Regions from separate parts of the Homo sapiens genome. Here all the other regions are linked to region 1. Evidence: promoter capture Hi-C in 16 types of primary human blood cells and fetal thymus (Javierre and others, 2016). All regions are on one chromosome and are shown on one strand. Each heading gives the region's core, a stretch centred on a gene start or on the middle of the fragment in contact. The rest is flanking DNA. Distances are from core to core; before and after follow the strand shown. Region 1 holds the start of MRPL3 (mitochondrial ribosomal protein L3). Region 2 overlaps ZXDC (ZXD family zinc finger C). Region 3 overlaps CCDC14 (coiled-coil domain containing 14). Region 4 holds the start of MYLK-AS1 (MYLK antisense RNA 1). Region 5 holds the start of SEC22A (SEC22 homolog A, vesicle trafficking protein).

Region 1 (2,872 bases), core at 373-2,872:
CCTGTCTCTAGAACAAAGACTATCAAGATATCCAATTGCTGAACTGTCCTTTCTTCTTGACAGCACCCATTCTAAAACAAGTTCCTGCTTCTCTGATGCCACTTTAAAATCACTCAGCCTTAAGTCCAAATTTCATTTCAAGCCCCTCCCAGGTCACTCTTTTGGAAACATCCTCAGACATATGCTGTCTTTTGCTGCATCAAGCTAATTAAACTTGACTTTGTATGAGTTCACGTTTTCTTCTAGTAGCCTTGGCTTATGGGCTTCCACAATGCTGAGCACATACTCTAGCACACTATATGGATAAGAAATGTTAGTTATTGGCAGTAGTACAGAAATCTTCTTATTCTCAACTTCTTGCATGTAGCACACCTCAAAACATGTTTGTTCAATGAAGAGCCATCCTTAAGTATCTGGGAAGCCAGGCAGCATGGCTAGAATGAAGAGATGTAGTTTTTCCTTCAAGGTCCAAAGTATTATTGAAAAGTGTCTAAGGTAACTGCAACAGCAATGAGTGGAATGAATGGACAAGCAAAGCAAAGATTTTTTAGCCCACTAAAGTCCAAGTAATGGCCAGGAATTGACCATTGTCTGGACCTGTTAAACCAAGATAGCCAGATCTCTAGTAAAAAGAGAAGGTTGAAATAGCTACACTTTAAAGTTCTTATTTCCAAATTTCTACAAACAGTAATCTGACAAATAAGGGAATTAGTAGAAGAATAAATGTCCTAGTCACATACATGGTTATTAGGCTAGATCTGGAACCCAAGACAGGGGATTTTTTGTGCAGGTGTATTAGCTATCTATTATTGCATAACAAATTACCCTAAAGCTTAATGACTCAAAAAAACGGTAATCATTTATTTTCTCTGGCAATTTCTCCTAGTCAGTAATTCATGAGCGGCCTGGCTGGGAGATTCAGGCTTAACGTCTCCATGAGTTGCAGCCGAGGACTGGTGGATCCACTTCCTAGGTGGCTCAGTCATGACTGGCTAGTTGATTCCTCTTTATATGTTCCTCCCTGCAGAGCTGTTTGAGTGTCTGCAGGAAATGAAGGCTAGCTTTCTCCACAGGGAGCAATCCAAGAGACAAAAACTGAAGTAACAATATGTTTTATGATCCAGCCCTAGAAGGCATACATCATTTCTATGGGTGTAGTCTATTGATAACACATGCCAACCCTGTTTCAGTGCCAACTCTGCTCCTCTGCCAGATGTGTTGTTTTGGACCAGCACCTAAATTCTGAGTCAGTTTCCTCATTTATAATAGAAAAATAAATACTTCCTTTCAGGACCGTTTTTTATGATTAACAAATATAGGATTATGAAGCGCTGCTTAGCATAATGCATTGCCTCACAACGGGCACTATTTAGAAGTGTCTTCATTTTCCTTAGCGTCCTCAGGAAGTCTGTCCTTATTCTTCTAAAGTTTAAACTCTGAACATCCCTTTTATTTTACCCCTGGAGAGGCGAGTCAGTCCCTTCCCACCCCTACCTACTCCAACTCACATCCAAAGTAGGACAACGGTGGAAGCAGAACTATAGTTTCCGGGGAGCGACTCGAGTGCCCGGAGTTCATTGTAAAACGCACCGGAAGTGGGTCCGGCGGCTTTCTTTCCGTCGCAGAGAGCATCGGCCGGCGACCGTTCCGGCGGCCATTGCGAAAACTTCCCCACGGCTACTGCGTCCACGTGGCGGTGGCGTGGGGACTCCCTGAAAGCAGAGCGGCAGGGCGCCCGGAAGTCGTGAGTCGAGTCTTCCCGGGCTAATCCATGCCGGGTTGGAGGCTGCTGACGCAGGTCGGCGCCCAGGTGCTGGGTCGACTCGGGGACGGCCTGGGTGCTGCCCTGGGCCCGGGGAACAGGTAGGAAGGTGTGAGGGTGTCCTACCTGCACAGTTGCGTCCTGAAGCAGTGGAATGGCCTGGTGCAGTTGGGCCTCCCCTGGGTGGAGGAGGAAGGGGCTCTGTTGAGACGTGGGACACAGAAGAATAAGGGCCGTTAACCTAAGGAAGCACGTTCTAAGGGGATTGAAGTGGTGATTTTTAAAAAACGCTTATGAGCCAGCCACTAGCAGCGAACGCTATTAACAGCAATCATATCTTACAATTAGTGAGCGTTTGCCAGGTACTAAGCGCTCTGCTAAGTGTATTAGGTGCCTTATGTAGCCTCACGGGAGCAAACTGCTATCATAAGGTTTACAGATAAAACTGAAGGTTAGGGAGGTGAGTTAATTTGCCCAAAGTCACTCAACTAATAAGTGGAAAATTAGGAATCTAGCCTGAATTTATCTGACTACAAAAGGAGAGTAGACTGCAGAAAGCTTTACTTCTGTTCTGACCCTCCATGCAAGAATTACACCCCTTCTTCCTGACCTCCGCCCACTAAGGTCTTTCTTGGTATGTTCACCTGTTCAGAGGTCATGCCTTTTGTGGATCTTTTAACTTTGCACACCCAGTTTCTTCACTTCTCTGAACCTAGGCCATGTCATTGCAGGGAGGAGGTGAGCTTGTTAGACAAAGATCAACATGCCACCTTCTGCCACCTCCACTGAATGTAAAACTATTAAGGTACACTTCCAAATGGGTTAGTGGCTTTTCATGTCTATAGGTAGGACTGTTTTTTGGGGAATATGTTTATCTGCGAGGAGAAGATGAATTTTTTTCTCCAGGGTAACGACTAACAGTTTAAATGTGAGCCTTATCCGAAGGAATGTGGGGAGTGAGGAAAAGGTTGGAGACCTGAAAAAAAGGTATACAGAATCCAAGCCCTTTCCCAAGGCCCTGACTACACTTTCCAATTTGTGACTTCCCTTTTCTATATTAAGTGGAGGAAGTTTTTAAATTGTGGTTTGGTTTTATTTATTTTTTCTTTT
Region 2 (2,952 bases), core at 232-2,731, 5.0 Mb after region 1:
ACTCCTGTTAAACATCCTGCAGCCTCATGTTTTCCACCCTGTTGGAGCCCTGAATGTTTCTGTCGGAGGAGAAGTATTGCTGTGGAATTGTTGAGGCTTAGCTGCTTTGGCCAGGGGTTAGGATTGAGGTGAAGATTACAAAGCAGGGAACCTAAGGAAATTGCGAAAGGAAAAAGAATCCAAACAGCAAGGGACAGGGCTGGCAGTTGGAGGGTGTCAGGGAGGAAATTTGGATATGTAGAGGATGCAGCATCACCCCCAAGGGGTGAAAAATCCTGGCTAGTAGGATGATTTGTAGCCTTTCAAAGATCAACCCTACCAGACAAAATCTTGTTCCTTAGTATTTGATTTCTCTCATGGGGTTCTTGGGTCTCAGTGTGTGTGCAGGATCAGTGCTCCGGAGCCGGCCAGTAGATGGCTGTGAACGGAGGACTTTCTCTTTATCGGTTGCTCCATCTCCAAGTCATGTTGCAACAGGTGGCCAGCGTGTGCCTATTGGCTGCCATTAGCTGCCTTCCTGTGGTGATCACAAAGCCAAGCATTAATGGTCTTCCCTTTTTAGAGAGTGCTTCTGAGTCATGTTTTCCCTTGTCTGCTTCAGTGTGAACAGGGTCTGGTGGGTGTGACTAGCATTAGCTATGTTGTATAATTTTTGCCACGCTTTGAGCAGGGTTTGTGTTTTCCTTGTTCAGGCTGTGAGAAGACATTTATCACAGTGAGTGCCCTGTTTTCCCATAACCGAGCCCACTTCAGGGAACAAGAGCTCTTTTCCTGCTCCTTTCCTGGGTGCAGCAAGCAGTATGATAAAGCCTGTCGGCTGAAAATTCACCTGCGGAGCCATACAGGTAATGAGCTAGGGAACGCACAGCATTTGGACCCAAGATTTGTCTTCATCGTAGCTGTTGGAGTTGTAAATTTTATGCTGTATAATTTTTTCTTTTATAAGGTGAAAGACCATTTATTTGTGACTCTGACAGCTGTGGCTGGACCTTCACCAGCATGTCCAAACTTCTAAGGCACAGAAGGTAATCCTTACATTTTGGTTTGCATTATCAGGTTTGAAAATGAGTGGTTTGTCAGCAGCAGAAACCAATGAATGAAATATCTGTAGACATTTTTTAAGTTGTTAAAAAAGGAGCTCAGTGTTGATGATTTGGAAAATTCAGAAAACTGTAAAAAGAAAATTGCTCAGAATCTCATCACCTGAAGTCAGTTTTTTCTGTGTATACTTTTTTTAAAAAAAGCTAAATTGGCATACTCTGTTCTTAAAAAAAAAACAATTCCAGGTTTTTTTTTTAACTTAACATTGTAGAATAAGCTTTCTTCATGTAATTACAAGTTTTCATGGTGGTAATGACAACCCTGGAGACTGTGTCCAGGTGACACTCAGCACTTTACATGTGTGTCTTCTACCTTCCCAACAACCTCAAAGCTAATGTTCTTATTCTCCCTGTTTTACAGTGAGACTCGGAGAGATTCAGTGGTTTTTCTGTACTTGCACAGCTGGGCTCTGAGGATTTAATATAAAAATGTCACTTAGGAAAAGACACAGTCTTTACAAGTTGGCTTAAGAGAGTCCTTTTGGCATTGCAGCTGATGCTCTGTGCACATTTCTCACGACCGTCTGTCGCTCGGAAAGCTTGTTGATCATTGGGGTTTCTAAACAATAGAAACACCTTCATCAATACATTTGGGACTCCACTGTTCTTAGATTAGCTTATATTAGATTGAAGTAGCATTAATTGTTTGATGTGTGACTCTGGGGTCAGCTTAGTCATTAAAGTAGAATTTTTATGGGGTAGCTAAATTGCAAATCTGCTCACATGGATTAAAGACAGAATTAAGATTTTCCGAAATGTACTGATCATTTTTGTAAATGCAAAGTTTGTGTTTTGGTATGTTTTGTAGAATTTTAAAGAATTATGGTGAGTTGTGTGAGGAATCACAGCTCCTTTATTTTTCTGTCTGGCAGGAAACATGACGATGACCGGAGGTTTACCTGCCCTGTCGAGGGCTGTGGGAAATCATTCACCAGAGCAGAGCATCTGAAAGGCCACAGCATAACCCACCTAGGCACAAAGCCGTTCGAGTGTCCTGTGGAAGGTAGATTTTAAAACATTGCTTTGAGCAGTAAACTAAGTGCAATGCCAACATTTATCCTGTTAAGTTTCCGTTGTTTAAAGGTAAATGTTAGCTGCTTAAAGACTGACTCAATATAAGTTGCAGCATTATGTTTACTTACCTCATTGAGTTAATTGTACTATTTTGGGAGCAGTGACTTGAGAATCAGACGCAGTTTGACTCATGGCCCTGATCCTCATTAGATCTGTGGCTCTAGTTAAGTTACCTGTTTAATTTGGTGGTCGTGAGGATTAGGTGAAATGTGGAAAATGCCTGTTTATCCATCTGGCATGGAGCTCGGACTCAGTAAATGGTAGGTACTTTTGAGATCACGTTTGAATTGTCACTCCAATCATTTTGTAATTGGAGAGCAGTAAAGCTAGACTGACTTTTTCTTTTTTTGTTTAATTTTTGAGACAGTCTTGCTCTGTCACCCAGGCTGGATGCAATGGTGTGATCTTGGCTCATTGCAACCTCTGCCTCCCAGGTTTAAGTGATTCTTATGCCTCAGCCTTCTGAGTAGCTGGGACTACAGGCGTATGCCACCACGCTTGGCTGATTTTTATGCTTTTAGTAGAGACAGGGTTTCACCATGTTGGCCAGGATGGTCTCAAACTCCTGACGTCAAGTGATCCACCCACTTTGGCCTCCCAAAGTGCTGGGATTACAGGTGTGAGCCACCACGCCCAACCTGACTTTTTAAAAGGTATAGTAGAGTGGTTTTTTCCTTTAAAACACTGAAGGCTCAGTTCATTTGCCAGAAATTGGCTGCGTGACCTGTGCGTGACTTGTGCGTGCTGGCCCTACTCTAGTTCTGCAGGTGCACTGGGA
Region 3 (3,048 bases), core at 184-2,683, 7.5 Mb after region 1:
AAAGATTGGAGGCCCCAATAGCAAAGAACACATCTAGTACCTAGATCTTGGTTTCCACGTACCACTGTCCACTAAGGAGTCATGGCTTCTTGGAGAAATGACCAACTCCAGGGCTGAGCAGGGGTAATATAAGAAGAGCATGGACACATCAAACTAAAAAGCTTCTGCACAGCACAGGAAATGATTAATGGAGTGAAAAGGCAATCTACAGAATGGGAGAAAATATTTCCAAGCCATGTATCTGATAAATAATATCCAAAATACATATAAGGAATTTCTATAACTCAAAAGCAGAACAACACATAACCTGGTTAAAAAACGAAAAAAGGATTTGAATAGACATTTCTCCAAAGAAAATGTACAGATGGCCAGCAGGTATATGAAAAGATGCTCAACATCACTAATCCAGGAAATGCAAATTAAAACCACAATGAGCTATCACCTAACCCCTGTTAGGATGACATTAAAAAAATGAAAACAAGTGTTGGCAAGGATGTGGAAGAATTGGAACCCTTGTACACTGTCAGTGGGAATGTAAAATGGTATAGCTGCTATGGAAAACAATATGGAGATTCCTCACCAAATTAAATATAGAACTATATCACCCAGCAATTCTACTTCTGGGAATTTATCCAAAAGAATTGAAATCAGGATATAGAAGAGATATTTGCACTCTTGTGTTCATTGCAGCACTATTCACAATAGCCAAATGTGGGAACAACCCAAATTCTATCTGCAGATGAACAGATAAAGAAAATATGGTATATACATACAATGGACTATTATTCAACCTTTAAAAAGAAAGAAATAGCTGTCATATGCAACAACAGAGACAAAACTTGAAGACATTATGCTAAGTGAAATAAGCTAGTCACAGAAGGACAAATACTGCATGATTTTACTTACATAAAGTACCTAAATAGTTAAAACTCATAGAAACAGAATGTGAGCATGGATTGGGCGTGAACCAGAGGGATTTTTGTTTTTTGGGTTTTTTTTTGTAAAGAACAGTATTGGGATAATTGGCAACATGTGAATAAGGTCTGAATATTAGATTGTAATTCTGTATCAATGTTAATTTCCTGGTTTTGATAATTATACTGTGGTTATGTTAGAGAATGGCCTTGTTTTTAGGAAACATTTAGGAGTAAAGGAGTATTGTATCTGCAAACTTAACTCTAATGGTTCAGGCAAAAAGTACTGCTGTGTATATATATTGAGAGAGAATATGGAAAATGTCAAGGTTCACAGAATCTGAGTGAAGCATATATAGGGCATCTTTGTACTATTATTTCATAGTAGAAACTACAAAAAAAAATTGAAAGGAATTGTTCCAATATGACAGTTACTGTTTCAAGGTGCTTTTATCATGGGTAGTTTTCTTTACCAGATTTTCTATAATATAGCCTTGTGTATATTTTTTGGAGAAACACCATATGTAATCTTACAGTTATGCCAGACATATACCTCAGACAGTGTACTTTAATTGTGGTAGTTGTTTTTGGACTCGATCCAGGGTATAGTATTATAGTGTCATGGCTTGGATTTTTTATTATGATTCCAGCCAAGACATCGACATAAATATACCAAAGGGAAGGACCCTGAGAGTGTGATGCAGAGACCAGTGGTGTGATGTTATACAAGGTCTTATTTCCTACATTGTTGGTTCTCACTGCTGGCTTCATGACCCTCCATCATAATCCAAGTTATCTCAAGACGTATAACTCTTACCAACCCAGTTTTTAAAAAATGTATTCTCAGTGACATTCTTAGAAGGATGGAGCACATATTCAAGCATATAATAGAATGCCGTATAACTTTAGAAAGTTTGGTAGTTACAGCTCAAAGCTATCTGGAGATGAAATTAAATATGTGAAGAGAAATTATAAATAAAACTGCCAACAGTGACTACATCTGGAGGGTGGAACTAGGGGGGGAATCAGGGACTTTCTCATGTCTATTTAAAATTATTTTGAATAAAGATTATATTTATCTGATATAAAATTATTAAGATATAAAATAGTATACCATGGAAAGTGTCCCTTCTCGCTCTGTCCCCCAGATACTCTGTTTCCCTCCCCAGAGGCAACCATGATTAACTGTTTCTGGCATAACTCCCAAGATACTGGATGCATGTAAAAGCAAATGCTTATTTTTTCCTGTTTTTCTACACAAAAGGTTGTCCATTATTGTCACTTTTAAAACAAAAAAGTTTAAGAAAACAACAGTGGTATATGAATTTAAAAAGAAAAATTAAGACAGTGAGATGTAGATAAAGAGACAGGGTAGAGTTCTCACTTCCTGGTCTAATCAGGCATTCTAAAGAATGTACATAAAAGGAACCAGAGTTAAGAACTCTGTCCTATATCATGAATTAACTTGCATGTTTCAAAGAATTTGGGACTATAGAACATATTTTGGGATTAATATAGTCTGAACTTAGTGTAGTAGTTACTTCTGGTTTAAAATAGTATCTCAATTTCCTTTTCACCTTAAATAGACTTAAGGAACAAATATATGTGTAGTTTGCTTGACGTTTTACATAAAAGAAATTTAATATATGAATTAAATTATAATTGTGTATTTTTAGGATATATCACATTAATTAAAACAGTGAATAATGTGGTACATACATATAATGGAATATATTTGACCTCAAAAAGGAAGAAAAATTTTGACACATGCTACAATATAGATGAAGCTTGAAGACATTATGCTAAGTGAAATAAGCCAGTCACAAAAGAACAAATATTGTATTATTTCAGTTATATAAAGTTTCTAGACTAGTCAAATTCATAGAAACTAGGATGATAGTTGCTAGGGTCAGGGAGAAGAGGGGATGGAAAGGTATTGTTTAATGGATGCAGAGTTTCAGTTTGAGAAGATGAATAAAAGAAAAAAATGACATTAAATTTTGTCAAGATAGCATATTGAAAATATAATAGAAAAATATTTGTTTATCTGCTATAATATATTATGTCATAGGTGTTATCTTCAGGAAGGCACACTGGACCTGCTAAATTAACAAATGGAAAGAAAGCGTAAGTA
Region 4 (3,102 bases), core at 159-2,658, 7.9 Mb after region 1:
TAGCCATCTTCAACCTTTATGCTTGAATAAACTTCCTTTAAACTAGATTCTTACCTTTTTTATTATTTTAGGTTGACAACTCTCAAATTTATATCTCTAGCCCATTGGACTTCCTTCCCGAACCTCAGGGTCTAAATTTAATTGTCTATCCAGCCTCTCCACTTGGATGTTTAATAAGGATTTCAAATTCAACATATAAAAAACAAAATTCCCGACTTCCGCCTTAAAAATGGTTTCTTACAAGTTGCTCAAAACGCCTTTGACCTCACACTCCAAAACTAACATATCCACAAATCTTATAATTCTACTTCTAAAATACGCACAGAATTCATTGTTGTTTTCATCACCTCGATTTCCACCACTCTGGCCCACACCACTATCACCATGGCTGGATTATTGTAATAACTTCCTGATACCACTTTTCACCAACTAATACGAGCATTTTCGTCTGGTTCCCTCAGGGGTCCTTAAGCCCCAGGCTGCGGATAGAACCAATCCCTGGCCTGTTAGGAACCAGGAGGCACAGCAGGAGGTGAGCAGCAAGCAAGGGAGCATTACCTCCTGAGCTCCGCCTCCCTCAGATCAGCGGTGGCATCAGATTCTCATAGGAGCGGGGAACCTATTGTGAACTGCGCATTGGAGGGATCTAAGTTGTGTGCTCCTTATGAGAATCTAATGATAAATGTAATGCCTTTGAATCATCCTGAAACCATCATCCACCCCCCCACCACGAAACCGGTCCCTGTTGACCAAAAGGTTGGGGGCCGCTGCTCTATATAATCCCTGGGAGACTGACGACTTTGTCTCTTTCACTTAGTGCCATGAACTCCAGGGCAACTTTGTGGACGCTCCATAAACACTTGCTGGAATGAACCCATAAATATTTTATACTACCACATATACAGTAATACATTTAAGGAGCTGCTTGGGTGTGTAAAAAATTGCAGGGGACGTTTACAAATAAAGAACCTCCTGAAACAAAGCAATGAATGGAAAGTGGGATCAGCTGGTTGAAGCAATGCCCACAAGCTGCTCCAGCTTCCCAAAGCAGAGAGGTTTTCCACCTAAGCCAACATCCTTTTATTTTTAGTCACTATAGCTATAAATCTACTCCCTTACCCCGCACCTCACTCTCAGCCGACAGCCCAATGGGCTTATCCTCCTCTCGCCCTCACGATGAGCGAGTCCACGCGGTCTCAGGCTGGAAGATGCACTTGAACACCAGCCAAGCACTCACGGACGACACTGGATTCTAGGCCGCCTGGGCTTCTCCACTGTACTAGGAATGTAAAATCAAAAGTCAGAAAGAAAACTTCGGAGGTGGAATCTCCAACCCGGCAACGGGTTAGGAAGCAAAGCGCACCTACCAAAGGGCTGGTCCCTGCAGCCTCAAGGGCTGATGGGAAGTGAATCCACCGTCAACCGCCCTGATCCAAAATGGCAGGATACCGGAGCAATAGTGTTCAGGTGTGAAGATAGGGCAATTGAAGAAGGGAGAACGAAAGCATAATTGTTTTGATTCAACATGGAAGCAGTGATTATAGGAGGGCGAATAGCGAGGGACGACGCAACATCCAGCTGGCAGAAGCAGCGGGCCTGGAGAGGGTGGCTACATTGAACTAATCCAAGATGGCGCCGAGGTTGTAACCGGGAGCGCCCAAGAGGCGGGAATTACCCTGATCCAAGATGGCAGTGGCAACTGAGGCAAGCCGAAAGACGGGAGCGCCAGGAGCGTCTTTGCCCTCAGCCAAGATGGCGGCTGCCGTGGACCCTGTCCCGGCTCCGCCCCGCGGCCCTGGCCCCGCCTGCCCCTCGTCCCTTCCTCCGCCCCCTCTCCTCGCGTAGTCCGGCCCGAGCCGCTCGCGCTAGGAGAGCGGGCTTCGGGCACTTGACATGGCGGCAGTGGCGGCGACTGCAGCAGCGAAGGGGAATGGGGGCGGCGGTGGCAGGGCCGGGGCCGGGGACGCCAGCGGCACGCGGAAGAAGAAGGGCCCGGGGCCCCTGGCCACGGCGTACCTGGTCATCTACAATGTGGTGATGACAGCCGGGTGAGGCTGGGGCTCGGGGAGGCGGGGAGCCAGCGCGGCCGGGGAGGGAGCCCTGCGGCCAGCGGCGGGGCGGATAGGATCGGCGCGGCCCGCCGCAGGCAGTGCATTCCCGGCGGGGGGTGCCCGGGACCCGGTACCTGGGCGCTGAGGGCGGCCGAGCGCTGAATCGGCCCCGGTGGCTGCCCGCGAGCTCCCTCCTGCGCTGGGGGTCGAGCCAAGTTCCCAGGCACTGGGGCGCGGGGACGGCTGCCGGGCGCTGGCTCGCGAGGGCCGCGGGAGGAAAGGTGGGGCTGGCCACAGGTGCGGGGCCGGGGGCAGCGGCCGGACTACCTGCGGCGCGGAGCCCGTCCTGGGCGGCCAGATTCGGATGTTGAACGGCGCCAGCATGGGGAGTGGAGGAGCTGTGGCTGCAGAGTGACCATTCATTTGGGCGGCTGTTTTCAAAATCTGGGCTGCGCTTTAATCTGAAAGGTATTGGGAAAGCGTTCAAAGTTTTTGGCCAGCGACATGAGCAGAGCTAGGCTTTAGATGAGTTTAGACTTTTAGGATGGGTTGGGGTGGGGAAGAAACTGGGGAGTAGAAGGCAGAGTTACTGGAAAGGGGGAGAATGGACCCTCGAAACGGTTTTACCCATCTTCTGTCTCTTTCATTTCAGTGCATCCCTTATCCCGGCGGGTTTTTAGTTCAAGCTCTGCCACTAACTAGCTGTGTGACTTTGGATAAATCATCTTATTTCTCTAGCCTCCGTTTTTTCATTTGTAAAACTAAAGGGTTGGTCTGGGTGATGAAGGTTCCTTCAGCTCTGCAATTCTTTATCTTGTCATTTTGGTGAGGAGGATCACAGCATCAGACAGTTATATATTTTTAAGTTATCTTCATTTGTAATTTTTTAAGAAGTCCTAACATTTTATTATGAAAAATTTCAAACATACAGAAGAGTTGAAAGAATTGTATAGTGAACATCCATTTTTATTTAAAGTAGGTGATACATTGTTAGGGTTAAAAATGAAAAACATGAGGGAATACAGTGAAAATCTTTCCTCCCACCTTTCCC
Region 5 (3,212 bases), core at 243-2,742, 8.3 Mb after region 1:
CTTGTAACATGCTAAAAGCACTACATTAAATATTTGCTGTATTATTTATTGATTACTCTCCATGGACCACGCACTTTATACACATTACCTCATTTAAGCGTTCCAAAAACCTGTGAGATAGGTATTATTAGTTCCATTTTACCTTTGAGGAAATTCAAGCCCAGAAAGCTTGAGGAATTTTTTTTAATCCCTAAACGAGTAGGTGACAAAGTAGGGATTTAAACTCAGGCCCAATTCTAACAACTCTGTGAGACACTCAAGGAAGGTCACAGGCACCCCTGTGATAAGACCTAGGCCTCTTTCATATACCAACATAAGATATACTTCGATTTTAACCAGTTGCACGCAAAAAAAAAAAAAAAAAAAAAAAAAAAAAAAAAAGGCACTAAACAGATGTGATGGTTTTCAACATAGGAAATACCCGAATGTCCCATTACTTTAGGATATGGTCACAGGTGTCAGAGTCAAATACTGAATGAACCTTAATATATCAGAAATTGTAGGTACCGTTTAAGGCATTGCCTGATTCCTTACAATCTTAGCATGTAAGCAAATATCAGTAACATGGAAAGTGATTCAGAGTTTGAAAAGTGGCTGTTCCCCTGACTGAAGATCCCAACATCTCCAGTCTGGTGGCTGATACTTTTGCTCTGGGCTAGGCTTTGCCTTGGCTGAATAGGCATAGGAGGGACTGGTTCTCAAGCTCGCCCCCTGCCCCAGGTGGATGATCCAGGAAACTAAGCAGCAGGGAAAAATTATCTTAAGCTGTCTTCACTGGCAGAGAGATTCAAGCCAGCTGGGGCTTGTCCTTTTCTTTTGGAAGCCTCCTCCACTTGCCGAGCCAATTGCTCAGGTCTCCCTTCTGCCACATCGTTCCCAAAGTGACTCTTGAGACAGGGTCTCAAGAGATTTCCGTGAGCCAACGCGGGCAAATATCTGGGCTCAGGGCTCACTCCATCCCCACAAAACGTAAAGTAAGACACTGGTTCAAGTCCCATTCTGCCTAAAAGAAATAGGAAATGCCACCTCAAGCTCTCATGGGCCACCTACACAGGTAGATCACCGTGTTTCTGACACCTGGGCGCCAGGGAATCCCCACCACCATGCTGACAGCCAAGTGCGACTGTCCCTCCCCTTCAAACACTCCTTTCCTGGCTGCCCAACACCCGAGGCGGCTCAGACGAGGCGCAACCGCCGCCCGCCTGGCCCCAGAGAACCCTCAAGTCGAAGGGGACGGGGTCCCCGCTTGCCCGTCCCTCCAGAGCTCCGCGGCCCCGACTCCCATCCCAAAGGCACGGACTTGGCTCCTGCCCGTGGGGTAGGTCTTCAATCCCGAGGGCGAAGGCCGAGGCTGTGGCGAGAGGCAGGGAGCGGGAGGGGAGAGGCCGGCAGGGATTCGAACGACCCCTAAGAAAGGAAGAAGAGGACTGGGAGGGGCCGGGGAGTACCTGTCGAGACGGGACCCGCCGCTCCGAGTGACGCGCCCCGAAGTGCATTGTGGGGCCTGGGAGGGACCTTTCGGCGACGCTGCGGCGCGTCCAACGTGGCTCGCGCCCGCGGAATCAAACCACGCCCCCGTTCCCTCAGCTCACCCAGGCCAATCGGGTTCTGCAGGAAGGACACAACAACCCCCCAGCTCCCGGGGCCCTCCTTAGTCCCACCCGCTCCAGGAGAGATTGGCAGCTTCTCTCGCACCTGCGCCAGAAAAGTACAGCATCCTCTGATGACAGAACTACGTTGACTTCAGAAATAGGGCCAATCTCTTCCGCTCGCCGCCCTGTTTCTGCAGGCATTTTGTCTCTCACACGCGGCCCTACAGCAGACACTTATAAAGGGGACAGGGAGAAAAGCCCCCTCTGGGTGAGCAAGGAGAAGACCTGGCCCCGTCTATTCCCACACACAAGAAGGAAACTAACCATGGCAGAGAAGTGCCAGATGCTGACCCTGCGACCCCTTCCAGCCTTCGCATCGGTCATGCATTATTAAACAGGCATTTCCTGACTGTTTACCATGTGCCAAGCACCGTGTTAAGCACGGGGTTACAGGAGTGGACATAACACTTGATGGAATTTAAGGAGTAATTGGAGCAAGAGATATTAAAGCATAAATAGTTACAGAACTACAAATTGTCAGTATTGGGAGGGAAAATTAGTGGGTGCAATGATCAATTAATTTTGGACTATCAGGGAAAAGACTTCTGAATAAGTGCCTTTTAAGCGGCAGGCATATTGAAGAGCCTTAGAGAATGTTCCCCGCCAAGGAAATATTGTGTGAGGTTGTCGGGGCATGAAAGAACTTCTTGTGCTCTAGGAACTAAAAGGGAGTCAGTGTGGATGGAGTGTAGGGAGCAAGGAGAAACTTTGCCCGTTGACCTTAAGATATCTTCCAAAATACAGCCTGAAATCTGTAATGTGGCCAATAAGAGTCAGCATGGTCTGGCCCTTGTCTCATCTCAGCCCAAGGTCAATGGGCAGCTAATAAAGACTATTAAGTAGGATCCTATTTGCATATTTAAGAATCACTCAGGCTGTTTGTGGAGAATAGTGTGGAAAAGGGCAAGAAGGGCTGCTGGAAAGCCATTTGGAGGCAGTTGCGTCAGGCAAAGCCAGAAATGATGGGGCTTGAACTAGTGTAATGGGAGTTAGAGACAGAAAGAGGTAGATAATTTCAAGATATGTATAAATTAGAAATGGTATCCAAGGGACTTCATAACGGATTGGTTTGCCGGGAAGGGTCAACAAAAAGGAATATTAAGGATGACTCCTTAAGTAACTAGATGGATTAAGAAGCCATTTACTGACTCATGGAACACAGAAAGAGGAGCAAATGGTTTGGAATATGTTAAATTTGAAATGCCTATAAATGGAGATGTCAAGTAGATTTGGATATGTAGGTCTAGAGTTCAGAAGAAAGGCCTGAACTAACATAAATTTTGTCCTAGATATATACTCAACATAAATGTATTCATATATTCACCAGAAAACATATGTATAAGAATGTTCATGAAATAAATAAATTTTAGAATATTCTGACCAGGCGCGATGGCTCACGCCTGTAATCCCAGCACTTTGGGAGGCCGGGGGCGGGGGTGGATCACTTGAGGTTGGGAGTTCGAGACCAGCCTGGCCAACATGGTGAAACCCCATCTCAACTAAAATACAAAAAAATTAGCCAGGCATGGTTGTAGGCATCTGTAATCCCAGCTACTTGGG

Evidence for each region. The method cuts DNA at HindIII sites, captures the fragments that hold promoters and counts their contacts. A CHiCAGO score of 5 or more calls a contact.
Region 2: a fragment that was not itself captured here is called in contact with the fragment with the promoter of MRPL3 in region 1 in 1 of 17 cell types (total B cells); the score reaches 7.9 in total B cells.
Region 3: a contact is called between a fragment that was not itself captured here and the fragment with the promoter of MRPL3 in region 1, in 1 of 17 cell types (non-activated CD4 T cells). The highest score is 5.3, in non-activated CD4 T cells.
Region 4: the fragment with the promoter of MYLK-AS1 here is called in contact with the fragment with the promoter of MRPL3 in region 1 in 1 of 17 cell types (activated CD4 T cells); the score reaches 5.5 in activated CD4 T cells.
Region 5: the fragment with the promoter of SEC22A here is called in contact with the fragment with the promoter of MRPL3 in region 1 in 1 of 17 cell types (naive CD8 T cells); the score reaches 5.8 in naive CD8 T cells.

What each region holds. Positions count from the first base shown.
Region 1 is chr3:131,501,721-131,504,592 of GRCh38, reverse strand. It overlaps MRPL3 (mitochondrial ribosomal protein L3), which reads left to right and starts at 1,622. Exons shown (of 10, transcript NM_007208.4): 1 at 1,622-1,863. The coding sequence starts at 1,772. LOC105374114 (a long non-coding RNA gene) reads right to left here and starts at 1,994. Exons shown (of 3, transcript NR_189111.1): 1 at 1,889-1,994. RefSeq lists enhancers at 1,724-1,793, 1,300-1,986. The HindIII fragment of the contact is 1,488 bases long and covers 835-2,322 here.
Region 2 is chr3:126,470,046-126,472,997 of GRCh38, reverse strand. It overlaps ZXDC (ZXD family zinc finger C), which reads left to right. Exons shown (of 10, transcript NM_025112.5): 2 at 693-845; 3 at 947-1,025; 4 at 1,973-2,103. Among named protein-coding and RNA genes, the nearest start is that of ZXDC, 4.4 kb to the left of the region's middle. The HindIII fragment of the contact is 321 bases long and covers 1,321-1,641 here.
Region 3 is chr3:123,956,733-123,959,780 of GRCh38, reverse strand. CCDC14 (coiled-coil domain containing 14) reads left to right here. Exons shown (of 13, transcript NM_001366335.1): 2 at 2,986-3,041. Among named protein-coding and RNA genes, the nearest start is that of CCDC14, 3.0 kb to the left of the region's middle. The HindIII fragment of the contact is 2,540 bases long and covers 164-2,703 here.
Region 4 is chr3:123,583,819-123,586,920 of GRCh38, reverse strand. It overlaps MYLK-AS1 (MYLK antisense RNA 1), which reads right to left and starts at 1,408. Exons shown (of 4, transcript NR_121654.1): 1 at 1,368-1,408; 2 at 1,120-1,274. It overlaps HACD2 (3-hydroxyacyl-CoA dehydratase 2), which reads left to right and starts at 1,868. Exons shown (of 7, transcript NM_198402.5): 1 at 1,868-2,048. The coding sequence starts at 1,894. RefSeq lists an enhancer at 1,384-1,683 and silencers at 1,744-2,353, 2,364-2,543. The HindIII fragment of the contact is 6,053 bases long and covers 1-3,102 here.
Region 5 is chr3:123,200,223-123,203,434 of GRCh38, reverse strand. It overlaps SEC22A (SEC22 homolog A, vesicle trafficking protein), which reads right to left and starts at 1,492. Exons shown (of 7, transcript NM_012430.5): 1 at 1,449-1,492. RefSeq lists enhancers at 1,406-1,455, 1,696-1,775, 1,786-1,935. The HindIII fragment of the contact is 4,922 bases long and covers 171-3,212 here.